Regions from separate parts of the Homo sapiens genome. Here region 2 is linked to region 1. Evidence: promoter capture Hi-C in human tissues and cell types (Jung and others, 2019). All regions are on one chromosome and are shown on one strand. The core of a region is centred on a gene start or on the middle of the fragment in contact, and the rest is flanking DNA. Distances in the headings are between cores, read along the strand shown. Region 1 holds the start of HIF3A (hypoxia inducible factor 3 subunit alpha). Region 2 holds the start of LOC124904728 (a long non-coding RNA gene).

Region 1 (6,797 bases), core at 3,096-5,595:
GGGACCCATCCGAGGGAAGCAGAACCTCTAGGAGGGGACACTGTCCCTTCTTAAATTCAAGAGCAGAGGGTGCTTCTGGGGTGGCATCAACCCCAGCCTCAGGCAAGAGACCTGCGGCCCCACCCCCCAGGGCAAGGGGATATTTTCCTGTCTGGAGACAGAAGGAAAATAAAATCCTCAGTACAGCAGGGAGGGAGGCACAGAAGGGGGCAGTTTGGATGGAGGGTTGGAGCAGGGGAGATACGGCCCCTGTCCCCGTCCCCTCCTTCCTGGCTGGTGGGGGCAGGGGCCTCAGTCCTGCCTGCCTGAGAGGACATTCCGTCCTGTTCTGTTCCAGCCCTGTTTGTCTTCCTGCCCAGAGGGTGGGGGCGAGAGGGCCTCACGGAGCTGGGGGCCCGACAGGGAACAGGGAGTGGGAACTGGCAGGGAGGTGGGGCCAGTGCCCCACCTCCCAGGCAGCTGGGCTCTGTAATCCTCTGTGGCTGGGCTGCTTCTTCCATAGAAGGAGCCAGCTGGTGGCTGCGGAGGGACCCTCCTTCCAGCTCCCAGCCTGCCCTCTGGATGTTCTACTGGGAAGTGTGGGTCTTTCCCATTACACAGACTGGGGGCTAGTTCCTCTGGCTCAGGGTTCCAATCCTGACTCTACTACTTATCAACTCCACTACTTATAAGCTACTACTTACAAGCTCCACTACTTACAAGCTGTGTGACTGCTTATAAGCTGTGTGAACGTAATCTTGCTCTGTTGCCCAGGCTGGAGTGCAGTGGCTTGATCTTGGCTCACTGTCACCTCTGCCTCCCAGTTTCAAGCGATTCTCCTGCCTCAGCTTCCTGAGTAGCTGGGATTACAGGCTCCTGCCACCATGCCTGGGTAATTTTTGTATTTTTAGTAGAGACAGGGTTTCACTATGTTGGCCAGGCTGGTCTCGAACTCCTGACCTCAGGTGATCTGTCTGCCTCGGACTCCCAAAATGTTGGGATTACAGGCATGAGCCACCGCGCCCGGCCAAGGTTAGACTTACTGTTCTCCCTCTGTGCGTATCAGAGATGGAAAGCATGGGCTTAGGAGCTTCTTGGGCTTTACAGTAACCTGTGGATTACTCTACACGCCCCATAGTGTGGTGTGTGCATGCAATTACATACATGGTTTTTACACAAGCATCTTAAAAGGAGGATTAAATAACAGTGATACTGTAATAATGATAGCATTGGTGTGTTGAACACTCACGGAGCTAGAGAACCCATTAAGTCCTTACTACTACCCTATTGAGCAGGAGAAGTGATCTCTCCTTTTAAAGAGGCAGAAACTGAGATTTGGAGCAATGGCATCCCCAGCCCAAGTAACCCAGCGCCCTCCATTGACACTGAACTATGTTCAACCACTTCTCAGTGAATCCGACCATGTTCCTGCAATGACTTTCCCCATTTTCCGGATGAGGAAGCAGGCCCAAAGAGGTGATGAAACTGAAGCCACACAGCTTTTAGTAGCAGAGACAGGATTCAAGCCAGGTCTGTCTACTCTGACTTGAGCTCAGTTTGTGGCACACCTGTTGGGTGTCCCGCCCCCCACCGTCTGCTTCCTCACTACTGGCTCCTCATCTTGATCTGGGGTGGTGGAAAGGGAGTGTGATACCCAGTTTTCTTTTTTTTTTCTATTTTTCTATTTTTTTTTTTTTTGCGACAAGGTCCGGCTGTGTTGTCCAGGCTGGAGTGCAGTGGCCTGATCTTGGCTCATTACAACCTCTGCCTCAGGCTCAAGCCATCCTCCCACCTCAGCCTCCTGAGTAGCTGGGACTACAGACACTCACCACCATGCCTGGCTAATTTGCTTACTTCTAGTATAGATGAGATTTTGCCATGTTGCCCAGGCTGGTCTTGAACTCAAGCAATCCGCCCACCTCAGCCTCCCAAAGTGCTGGAATAACAGGCCTGAGCCACCGCACCCGGCCTGCCCGTATTTCCAGGATCTGAAAGTGAGGCTCAGAGCGGCAGTCACTGACACAATTCCACACCACCAGGAAGTGGGTGAGATGGGATTTGAACCCTGTCTTTGGGCCCTGTGCTCTTGGCAGGTGTGGCCCCCACCCAAGAGGCCCCTGCCCCACCCCTCTTTTGCCTAGCAGCCTCGGTCCCTTCCCCCGTCACACCCCTGCTGCCTCCAGATCGCCCCAGCTGGCCCCATGCCCAGCCCTGGTCCAGCCCCCTGGCACTCTGCCCAGCTTGGGACGTGCAGCTGGAACCCTGCCACCCTTCCTCCGTGTTCCAGCCAAGAACAGGGGGTGGGGCCAGGGCCTGGCGGGCTCAGGGTGAGGCCTGAGAATGGGGGTTGGGGCCCAGTGCCCCCCTCCAACCAGGAAGGAGAGAAGTTCACCTCTTCCCTGCCCTGAAGAATTTGCCACCCATGAGGAAGGCATAATAAAAGCAGGCAGTCCCTGCCCACATTCAGGGCTACTTCTGGGCTTTTCTATTCTGACACCCAGCTGGGTATTGGGGGGGGGCGTCTTACGAAAAGCACAGAGGATTTGGTGGGTGGGGGTTTAGGTTGTAGCTGGGCAAGGATGCCTTTTGGCATTGCAGAGAGGTGTCCTGAGAGACCAGAGGCAGGGTTTGGGTTTGCAAAGGGACTTGGCATGGGGGTCTGGGGGAGTCTCTCTGCCCCCCGACTCTGCCTGTTCTCAAGGACATGGTAATCTGGTAGGGTGCTGGTCCCCAAAATCCTATCTTCTCCGGGAATACTACCTCACTGGGCACTCTGGGCTGCAAGCCGTACCCACCAGGGACTTCCCAAGAGCATCCTTGGCCACAGTGGGATGGCAGCCAGCCCCAGCTAGAGGAAGGGAAGGGGGAAAGGAGGTGTTGGGGGCCCACTCACCATCGCCCAGGCCCCCGTTGGCTGAAGGGCCATCCAGGGGGTGCAGGAGGGGATGCGGTGCAGCCAGGACCCGGGTGCGAGTTACGAGTGGGTGCGCACGGCGGTGAGATGACTCCACAGGAAAGGGCCGGCCTTGGGTGGGGAGGGGGGGCACCCGAGCTCAGCCAAGAGGGGCCCCCACCCAGCCAGGAGGGGGCGCTGAGAGGGGCGGAACGACAGCTGGCCCAAAAGGGGTGGGATAGAGTTCCTTGTTAGGCCCAGAGCCAGGGCCTGGAATAGAGTAGGGGACAGGGGAGAGGATGGGGGCGGTTAGAAACATGGGGTGTGCATGGATCCAATCAGGCCTGAGAAGCCAGGGAGGAGGGAAGGGGGTGAGGCTTACTGGGTGCCTCACATTGGACAGGGAAAGCTGAGGACCTAGAACATTTTCCAGGGTCCCATGGGAACATGGCCAGATAAAACCCCCCGGCAGCGGCCCCAGGGCACAGGTTCCCCTGTGTTCCAGCAGAGCTGCACCTGCTGGGCAAGTGAACCCAGAAACCCACCCTCTGCCCGGGATGACCCCATCTGAGTACTGCGGCAGGGGGCGTTCCCATCACAGCCTGCAGGCTCACAGCACCCTGCCATGGAGTCTCCCCAAAATAAAGCTTGGATGAGGCTCCCCTGTCTCTCAGGATGGGGGTGCAGGGGTGAGATGAGGGGCTGGACTTTGGGAAGTGGGTCCAGCTTGTTTCCCTGTTATTTAAGGGGGTGACTCTGGCTTTTGAAAGGATACAAAAAGTCTCTTGGGAAGGGTCCCAGACGGCTTCTGAAAGGGGCTCCCCTCTGCCCATTTCTAGGGAAACCCAATGTTTAGGAGACTGTGTCAGGAAGCATACTATTAGAGGAGATCTCTCCTCTCTTGAACTCAGGAGCTGAATGCCATTCCAAGGGACTCCCTATATGTGGGAAGGCTCCATTTAGGGGTATCCCATATCACCTAGGATCCCAGGCACCTGGTGGCAAAGAATACCCTCAATTTTGGGGGGTTCAGAGGCCAGAGGGATCAATATGTGGAGGGCGAATATCTCCCGCAGAAGCCTGGGGACTGCTCAAATGCAATCACCCCTAATTTATCAGGAATCCCAAGTTCCACCCCCAACCAGGAGGGTAAATGAGCCTTGGGTAGCGAGAAATCGGGAACCCCGAAGCCGCTCTTGGCCAGAGGGGCGGGGCAGCCAGAGACGTAGGGAATCCCCCACCCCTGCAGTCCCTAAGGGTGGAGAGTGCGGTGGGGATGTGCCTCCAACTGCGCGCCCCGGGGCGTTCTTGGCTCGCACCCGCGAACCCCACCCCCCCCAACAATCCAGCTCAGGGGTCTCCAGGAGGAGAGCCCCCCAATTCCCAGAACTCCTGCCCCCGAACTTCAGTACCTTGCGCGCTGCAGCCCCAGCGCCATGGCTCGCCAGTCGCCGCTCCGGAGCCCTCGGAGGCCCCTAGCCCCCTCCCCGGCCTTGCGAGCCCCCTCCCCAGCTCCTCCCCACGCCGCGCGGTTGGCTGTGCCACGCCAGGCCTGAGGCTCTGATTGGGCAACGGTATGTCACTCCTGAAAAGGAGGCGGAACCAGAGGGAAAGACTTGGAAAGGCAAGGGGGGGATACCGTGTAATACACACCCCCCAACCACGCCCCTCGCCGCGGACTTCCTCGGCAGTGTATCCCGCACCGTCGGCTGAACGCGCCTTCTCTAGTCCAGCCTCTGAAGTGCCAACGCCAGTACTCTTCTGAACCCACTCAGTTCACTCTGCTCTCTGGACCCCAGTCCCCAGCCTCTAACCCCCACCTCTTCTCACCTTTCCATTTCCTAACCCCAGTTGAGCCCCTCTGACCTCCAATCCCACCCCTTCCAAACCCCTAGCCCTGCCTTCTCTATCCCTTCTAAGGTATTCACAGAGTACCCCACATCTCCTCCCCACCCCCCAACTCCCAACCCCACCCCAGTTCCACAATCCTTGGCCCTCTGGCACCTACCCTTCTCTCTCTCTCCCCAGCCCCTCCCTGCCACCCCAGTCCCATACCCCACTTCGCCCCCATTCCTCCAGTCTGCACCCTCTGCACCCCAGCTTACCTTCCCTACCCCCTCTACTCCACCCTAACCTCTTGGCCTCTCTGACTCCCTTTTCAGGTTCCCATTGATGAATAATTAAGCTTATGTCAAGTAAATATGTTTTAACTCAATCACACCTACTTCAAAAAAGAGCCGAGAAATGTATTTTTTTTTAACTAGTCGACTATGAAGGGAGAAGTACAAAGGTACCAAGCAAGGGTGAAAGCATTACAGTTGGATAAGGAACAGAGTGTGTGTGTGTGTGTGTGTGTGTGTGTGTGTTGGACCACTATTCTGGATTTGGTTGGCAGGGAAGAGGATACTACAGCAGAAGTGGCCTTGTTGAACCTTGAACTTGCCAGGCAAGTTGCTCACCTTAGGGCCTTTGCACTTGCTGTTCCCACAGCTTAGCACACTCTTCCTCCAGGAATCCACACGGCTCCCCGGCTCACGCCAGTTCCCCACTCTGTTTTCTTTTGGGAAACCACTTCTCTGTCCTCTTCATCTATTTAATTTGAATAGGGCTTGGCCACTGCTCTGCCTTCACCAGCTCCAGGGATGGACATAGGATCCAAACCTGGCTAATCAGTTGAGTCTGCTTCCCTGGCCACAGTGATTGGTTCAGGGAAGGCATGTTACCTAATTTAGCCCAATGAGAATCAACCCTGAGACATTTGCTGAAACCATTAGGAAAGAGGATTTTCTATGTCTGCTGGAATTGCTGGGCAGATGGAGCAGATGGGGCTCACACTGCCACAAAGAGAGGAGAGGCTTTATGAGATGAGGTTCAGTGCAAAAGAGATTGTGCAGAAATGAACGATTGTGAAAGGCAGTTTTGACACCAGCACTTGAGTGCCTGGATCCAGCCATACCTGAACTCCAGTTTAATTCTTGGATTTTTCAAATGAAACCCACAATGGGCTTTTTTTTTTTTTTTTTTTTTTTTTTGCTGTTGCTTTTGTCAAATATTGCTTCATTCACTATTGCCTTATTTGCTTTGTGCTTAGATTCGTTTGAATGGATTTTAGATACTTGCACCCAAAAGAATCTTGATAGAGAAATCAGCTTTCAACCCTCAGTGTAGAGGCAGGTGGGATGTTAGAAAAGGAGCAGTCTGAATTATAAAGGGGGGCCGGCCATGGTGGCTCACGACTGTAATCCCAGCACTTTGGGAGGCTGAGGCGGGCAGATCACCTGAGGTCAGGAGTTCAAGACCAGCCTGGCCAACATGGTGAAACCCCATCTCTACTAAAAATACAAAAATTAGCCGGGTGTGGTGGCACACCCTTGTAATCCCAGCTACTCGGGAGGCTGAGGCAGGAGAATCGCTTGAACCCAGGAGGCAGAGGTTGCAGTGAGCCAAGATCATGCCATTGCACTCCAGCCTGAGTGACAGAGTAAGACTCTGTCTCTAAATAAATAAATAAATAAATAAATAGTAGAAGGGGCTGCAGAGGAAGCATTGTTCTTAGAGCTTCTTAGGGTTTAGGTAAGGACATGGGGTAGAAGAGATGTTCAAGGGAGAAACTGAGGAAGGGGAGTGGTTGTTAACAAGACAACGAGAGTTCCAGTGGGTGTGTTGGAAGAGTTTGGAGGGGGCAGTAGTTGGATGATAGATTCAGTGGAAGAACTCATTGATTTTGGTATGAGGGAGTCACAGCAGAGAGCCAATCGGAGGGATTTACAGTGCCCAAGAAAAGCTGGCACTATTTCAACAAACATTAAAATAGAACTAACACTTTACACACAGAGATGCAACAGGTGTCTCTCTACGATGTAGGTTAGCGTTAAACTTCGCTCAGAGGTTCCCAGCAGCTAAGGCAATAAGGGAAATGTGTCCG
Region 2 (6,797 bases), core at 2,343-4,842, 48 kb after region 1:
ACCCCTGTGGGAACCAGTACCAGGACAGGAAAACATGAAGTCTAATGAATGAATTCCTGGAGGCTCACGGCGGAGCAGTCTGAGAATTAAAAACTCCAGGGGGCCCAGTCTAAGGGGAGCCTCTGCATTTTTCTAAGAGTTTTACCTCCAGGAACCCTATCAGGTTCTCACAGTGAATATGGGAGAAAAATCTCCTTCATGGTCTGGCATGAAGTGGGAAGGGGGAAAGTAACCGCTGTGAAACACACCAGAGTATTCTGTTCTTCTTAACAAGCTCTGCCATTAAGAGAAAGCATTTTACCAGAATCTAAATTATTAGGGTTTTATCAGAGCCTAAATGACCTGGAGGAAGAGAGTATTATTTTTATACAGGACAGTAAACAAGTATTCTTTGCTCTAAAGGGAAACCTTACCTCTGTCTTCCAAGGCAGTACACTACACAAACATCCTTGAAAAGAGTGTGGAACAAAAGGACAGTCAATGCCTCACTGCCAGGCCAGCAAAAAAGCAAGAGATCCATGGGGAATTGTCTCTGACACTAACAAACCAATATTTTTGCAAAGTAAATAAACACATGAGCAAGGTGATAATAGTGTGCTGGAAAACGCTGCCCTGCTGCAGTGGTGACTGTGATAGTCCCGGGTGTCTGGGAAGACACGCCAGGATCACAGAGTGGGGCCTGGTTTTAGAAGAATGCAAATCTGGTCATGAGTTTCACTGCTTAAAATTATTGAGTGATGGCCAGTCGCGGTGGCTCACACCTGTAATCCCAGCACTTTGGGAGGCCGAAGGAGGGTGGATCACCTGAGGTTGGGAGTTCAAGACCAGCCTGATCAACATGGAGAAACTCCATCTCTACTAAAAATACAAAAAATAAAAATTAAAAAAAATTAGCTGGGTGTGGTGGTGCATGTCTGTAATCCCGGCTACTTGGGAGACTGACGCAGGAGAATTGCTTGAGCCTTGGAGGCAGAGGTTGTGATAAGCCGAGATGGCGCCATTGCACTCCAGCCTGGGCAACAAGAGCAAAACTCTGTCTCAAAAAAAAAAAAAAGAAAAGAAAAGAAAAGAAAAAACCAAAAAAATTATTGAACGACTCCCCACCACCGCTAGGATGAAACCCAGGCTCCCAGCTTGTCCCACAAGGCCCTTTGCTACCTGGGCCTGCCTTCCCCTCCAGCACCTTCTCTACCTACACCCACGGCGTCCCTTTTTCATCCAACCAAAGAGTCACTCCTTGAAACAGTGCAAACAGGCTTCCACAGCATGACTCACCTACCAGCACCTGCTCCCAGTAACTTAGTTCCCTTCAGGGTTTCTCTTTCTCCCAACCTTCCCACCCTGCTTCCAACTTCCCTCACTGATAGAGAATTAAGGACTCACTCTATGCATCCCATAGGACTCACGCTTACCTCTCTCATTGTCTTGTCTTGCCATTGGTCACTCTCCTGGGTATTTGCCCAACCCAAATTCACCCTAAATTATTAGAGATATGCATGCAAAGCATAAAACTTTCAGCACATGGTTTTTGAAAATTAAAAATAAAAATCTCCTTCCCCTCCTTTTACCTCCCCCCTCATTTGCTCGTTTGCACTCCTCAGAGACCAATGCTGTTAGCAGTTTCTGCCTTCGGTACCTTTGAAGTTTCCTATCATACTCTCATAATTCTCTCTCGTGACTTTAGGGACCCAGGTTTACCATTACTAGTTGTGGCATTTCAAAACGTACTTAACCTCTCTGAGCTACAGTTTCCTCTTTAAGCACAATGAAATGAGGACGTATAAGCATCCAGTAAAGTCAACGTGTTTGTAAATATCATGTAAACTGGGAACCCCACACATATGTTGGGTCATAAAGAAAGTCTCAGCTTGCAGAGGATGAACATTATTAAAAGTAGGTTTTTGAGCCGGTGCTATGGCACATGCTTATAATCCCAGATACTCAGGAGGCTGATGTGGGAGGATCACTTGAGCCCAAGAGTTCAAGTCTAACCTGGGCAACATAGTGAGACCTCATCTCTAAAGAAATGTTCTCTGGGACTTCCAGTTTCCAGTCAAGCATGTAAGAAACTTGGAACTCATCACTCCATCTTAACAGAAAGTGAATACTGAACAAAGAAACAATTAACACTTCTTCTTATATCCATTAGAGGAGTGGGGTCACAGGGCAAACCACTGCCCTAAGATTTGTTGACACAGGCAGGTGGATACAGAGAATCAAAACTACTGCAACAGAAACCCATGACCAGAAACCCCTGTGGGAACCAGTACCAGGATAGGAAAACATGAAGTCTAACGAATGAATTCCTGGAGGCTCAGGGTGGAGCAATCTGAGAATTAAAAATTCCAGGGGGCCCAGTCTAAGGGGAGCCTCTGCACTTTTCTAAGAGTTTTACCTCCAGGAACCCTATGAGGTTCTCACAGTGAATACCGGAGAAAATGTCCTTCATGCCCTGAGTTTTGAGCTGTCTGAGAACATGACAGCCCTGGAACAGGTCCAGTAGCATCCTACTAATGTGTCAATGCTTTTATTTTGTTATGCTTTCTGTGGCTTTTCATGCCCCACCCTTTTTAAGAAACCACTCCTTCTGCACACCTCCCTAAATATGGGTAAGTTCATACCCTATAATAATCTCCTGTGTAAAGTCACTGACCCATTTCCACTGCTGCTCTCTCATCTGCTGCTCTGAAGCCTAAACCATGGTGCCCAGAATCTTCGGTAAGTCATCCCCAGCCCCAAGCTGAGCTAATGCCTAATGTTATCCCTAAGGTACCTCTGAACTTCAAACTTAATTTTCTCTTTTCTGTTTAATTCTCGGTTTCCCACCTCATAATCACCCGTGTCCTCTCTGACTGCATTGCAATCTCTCTCCCCACCTGCAAATTCCAGAAGCTTAACCCTTTCCAGAGCCCTCCCTGCATTTCCTCACCTGCCAAGCCCAGTCCCCAGGACCTACATCCAGAGTCAGTCCCAAAATCCACTGTGAGCTGTTACAGCAACCAAAGAAACTCAGAGACATCATCTTGTGCCCCAATGATCATGATCCGGTGACCCCAGAAACATTGTCATTCTCCTTCTGCTCTCAGCTGATCTTTGTTTTTGAACTCCTGGGCTCAGACTCAGAAGGGACCACAGATGAGAAGGGGTGTGGTGAGCGGAGGGAGAAGAGAGGAGGGAGGATTATAGCACTGTGGATAGGGTTGGGGGCTCCCAGAGGTCCCCTGTCAGCTCATCAGCTCTGACTCTTCCAGATATTGGACTGTGGTTGTGCCAGTTGACACTCCAGAGTGGAGACCAGATCTGCAATCTCTTGGGGCTGTAATAAGGGGATCATCCTGTCCTTGAACAAGACCCAGCTCTGTGGTCCTAACTGCACTTCTGGCCCTGCTTCCAGCACTGCTGACTGGAGCCCCTGGGCTCTCAGCACCAGGCAGTAGTGAGGCTCCATGTCCCAGGAGTGAGGCCTGACTACCCCAGGAGTGTGCTCAAGTAAGGGCAGCCCAGGCGGTGGACAGAGTTTTGTTGTGTGTATTCCATCAAGGTGAGCAATGCCTGCTGTGTTCACTAGCTTCTTTTTGCGCAACCATCAATCTCTCTCTCTCTCTCTCTCCCCCTCCACTGCCCCACTCTCCTCTCTTCCCCTCCCTGTCTTTTCCCTCCTCTCCTTCCTTCTCTTCCTCTCTCAAGTTGAAAGAAGAGTAGCTCAGTCATCTTCCAGAATTGCTTTTTAGCTCCGAGTCACCTGGCTCCACAGCCCCCGACCACTGTATGCCTACTTAGCTGTTCCTCCCCTTCCCCTCTACCCTCACCCTTGGCAACTACCAGTCGGCTTTCCATCTGTATGGATTTACCTATCTGGGACATTTCATATAAATGGAATCACACCATATGTGAACTTTTGTGTCACCTTCTTTTTTTTTACTTTGTTTATTGTTTTCATTGTTACAATTTCTACAATTGTATCCCCATTGTAGAATTTATTAGTATTTCATTCCTTTTTATAACTGAATAAATTCAATTGTATCCATGTATCAGCATTCATTTATCCATTCATCTGTTGATGGACACTTGGGCTGTTGTGAATAGTGCTGTTATGAACATACATATACATGTATTTGCTTGAGAACCTGTTTTCAATTATTTTGGGGTGTACATGTAGGAGTGGAATTGCTGCGCCACATGGTAATTCTGTTTAAGTTTTTGAGGAATTGGCAAACTGTTTTCCACAGAGCCGCATCAATTACATTCCCATCAGCAGTGTATGAGGGCTCACATTTCTCTCCAGATTCTTCAACCTTTGTTATTTTCTATTTTCCTGTTTATTACAGTCATCTGGGTGGGTGCGTATGATATCCTGTGTAGTTTTAATTTGCATTTCCTTAATGAATAATGACGCTGAATATCTTTTCCATGTGCTTATTGGCCATTTGTATTCCTTTTTGAAAAAAGTTTATTCAGATTTTTTCCATGTTTTAATTGGGTTGCTTATTTTATTATTATATAGTTGTAAGAGTTTTAAAATATATTCTGGATACTCATCCCTTATCAAATACATGATTTGCAAACACTTCTCTCATTATGTGGATTGTCTTCATTTCCTTGATGCTTGCAGTGCATAGGTTTTTAATTTTTGATGAGGTCTATTCTTCCTTTTGTCTCTTGTGTTTTTGGTGTAATATCTAAGAAAATATTACCTAACTTGAGGTCATCAAGATTTACTTCCACGTTTTCTGCTAGGAATTTTTTTAGGAAATTGACAAAGAATAATTGTTTATTCACATTGGGTAAAATGTGATGATTTAATGTAGGCTTAACTTGTTGAATGATTAAATCCAGTTAATTACGCTATCTATCACCTCAGGTACTTATAATTTTTTAATTTTGTTTATTTTTTGTTTTTGTAGAGACAGGGTTTCATTGTGTTGACCAGGGTGGCTTGAAACTCCTGGCCTCAAGTGATTCTCCCCACTTGGCCTCCCAAAATGCTGGGATTACAGGCATGAGCTACAGTACCTGGCCCTAAGGATTTTTAACATACAAGATCATGTCATTTGCAAATAGAAACCATTTTACTTCATCTTGCTCAATCTGAATGCATTTTCTCTTCTTGCCTAACTTTCCTGGCTTGAACCTCCAGAGCTATGTTGAATAGAGTGGTAAGAGTGAATATACTTATCCTGTTCCTGATGTTAGGGGGAGAGCATTCAATCTTTCACAATTAAGTATGATGTTAGCTATGAGTTTATTGTAGATGCTCTTTAACAGGTTGAGGAAGCTCTCTTCTGTTCCTAGTTTGTTCTTTGTACTTTATCATGAAAGAGTGTAGATTTTGTCAAATGCTCTTTCAATATCATTTGAGAGAATTACGTGACTTCCTCTATAGTCTAGTAATATGGTATATTATATTGATTGATTTTCTTATGTTGAACCAACTGCATCCCCGGGATAAATCCCACTTGGTCATGATGTATCATTGTTTTTTTTTTTTTTTTTTTTTCGGAGTCTCGCTCTGTCACCCAGACTGGAGTGCAGTGGTACGATCTTGGCTCACTGCAATCTCCACCTCCCGGGTTCAAGCAATTCTCCTGCCTCAGCCTCCCAAGTAGCTGGGACTACAGGAGCGTGCCACCATGCCGGGCTAATTTTTTGTATTTTTAGTAGAGACGAGGTTTCACCATGTTAGCCAGGATGGTCTCGATCTCCCGACCCCGTGATCCACCCACCTTGGCCTCCCAAAGTGCTGGGATTACAGGTGTGAGCCACTGTGCCCGGCTGATATATCATTCTTTATATATGCTGCTGGATTTGGTTTGCTATATTTTGTTGAGGATTTTTGAATTTATATTCATAAGAGATGTTGGTCTGTAGTTTTTTCTTTTTAATTTCTTGTGATATCTTTGATTTTGGTGTTAGGGTAATACAGACCTCAGAGTAAATTGGAAAGTTCTGTTTGACTTTTTTGAAAAGTTTGTGAATGATTGGTATTAATTCTTCTCTAAATGTTTTGTAAATTTTACTGTCTGGGTCTGGAGGGGCATTTCCAGTATATGAGCATTCCCCTTTCTCTGCATCCTTGCCAGCATCTGTTATTCTTTGTCTTTTTGATAAAAGCCATTTTAACCGAAGTGGGACATCTCAGTGTGGTTTTGATTTGCATTTCCCTGATGATAAGTGTTGTTGAACATTTTTTCATATATCCGTTGACTATTTGTATGTCTTCCTTTAATACATGGCTATTCAGACCTCTTGCCCATTTAAAAATCAGATTCTTTATTTTTCCCAGCAATACAATTACATACATATTGTTTCATGCCATGACTTTTAAAACCAGTTAAGGGGAGAAAGGGTAAGAAATAAGCGATTATGCTGTTTTTATAAGTAATTACACAATTACATATAAGCAATAATTATATAACATGCATACAAGTAATAATTACATAATTACATATGAACAATTATACCTTTCTTAGTGCTCTCCAGAGGGTGCAGCCCTAAGCATACGCACTGTCTCTCTAACTACTCCAGATAGTTATGGCATAAGCTGGCCTCTTTTTGACTGTCCTTTCCTTGATGTTTCTGTTAAGCTTCTGGCTTGTCTGCCTCTGTTGGTATCACTTGCATCTGTTAGACTCCTCTTATTGTTAATTGATTGCTCTATTCTTTTTAATAGGCCTATAGCACAATGCATAAATCATTTTGTGGGCTGATTAAAGTCTAGCTTCTTTGCCAAGTCAGAGTGTTGCCAGGGTTTGAGGCTGTCTCTCACTCCAGGAGGGCCCTTCTTAGTTATCTCTTTT

The links. The method cuts DNA at HindIII sites, captures the fragments that hold promoters and counts their contacts. A contact is called where the count stands out against the background at its distance.
Region 2: a fragment that was not itself captured here is called in contact with the fragment with the promoter of HIF3A in region 1 in 1 of the 25 tissues and cell types used here (bladder).

What each region holds. Positions count from the first base shown.
Region 1 is chr19:46,294,590-46,301,386 of GRCh38, reverse strand. HIF3A (hypoxia inducible factor 3 subunit alpha) reads right to left here and starts at 4,345. Exons shown (of 15, transcript NM_152795.4): 1 at 4,285-4,345. The coding sequence starts at 4,310. The HindIII fragment of the contact is 13,814 bases long and covers 1-6,797 here.
Region 2 is chr19:46,246,066-46,252,862 of GRCh38, reverse strand. LOC124904728 (a long non-coding RNA gene) reads left to right here and starts at 2,656. Exons shown (of 2, transcript XR_007067273.1): 1 at 2,656-2,718. The HindIII fragment of the contact is 6,217 bases long and covers 484-6,700 here.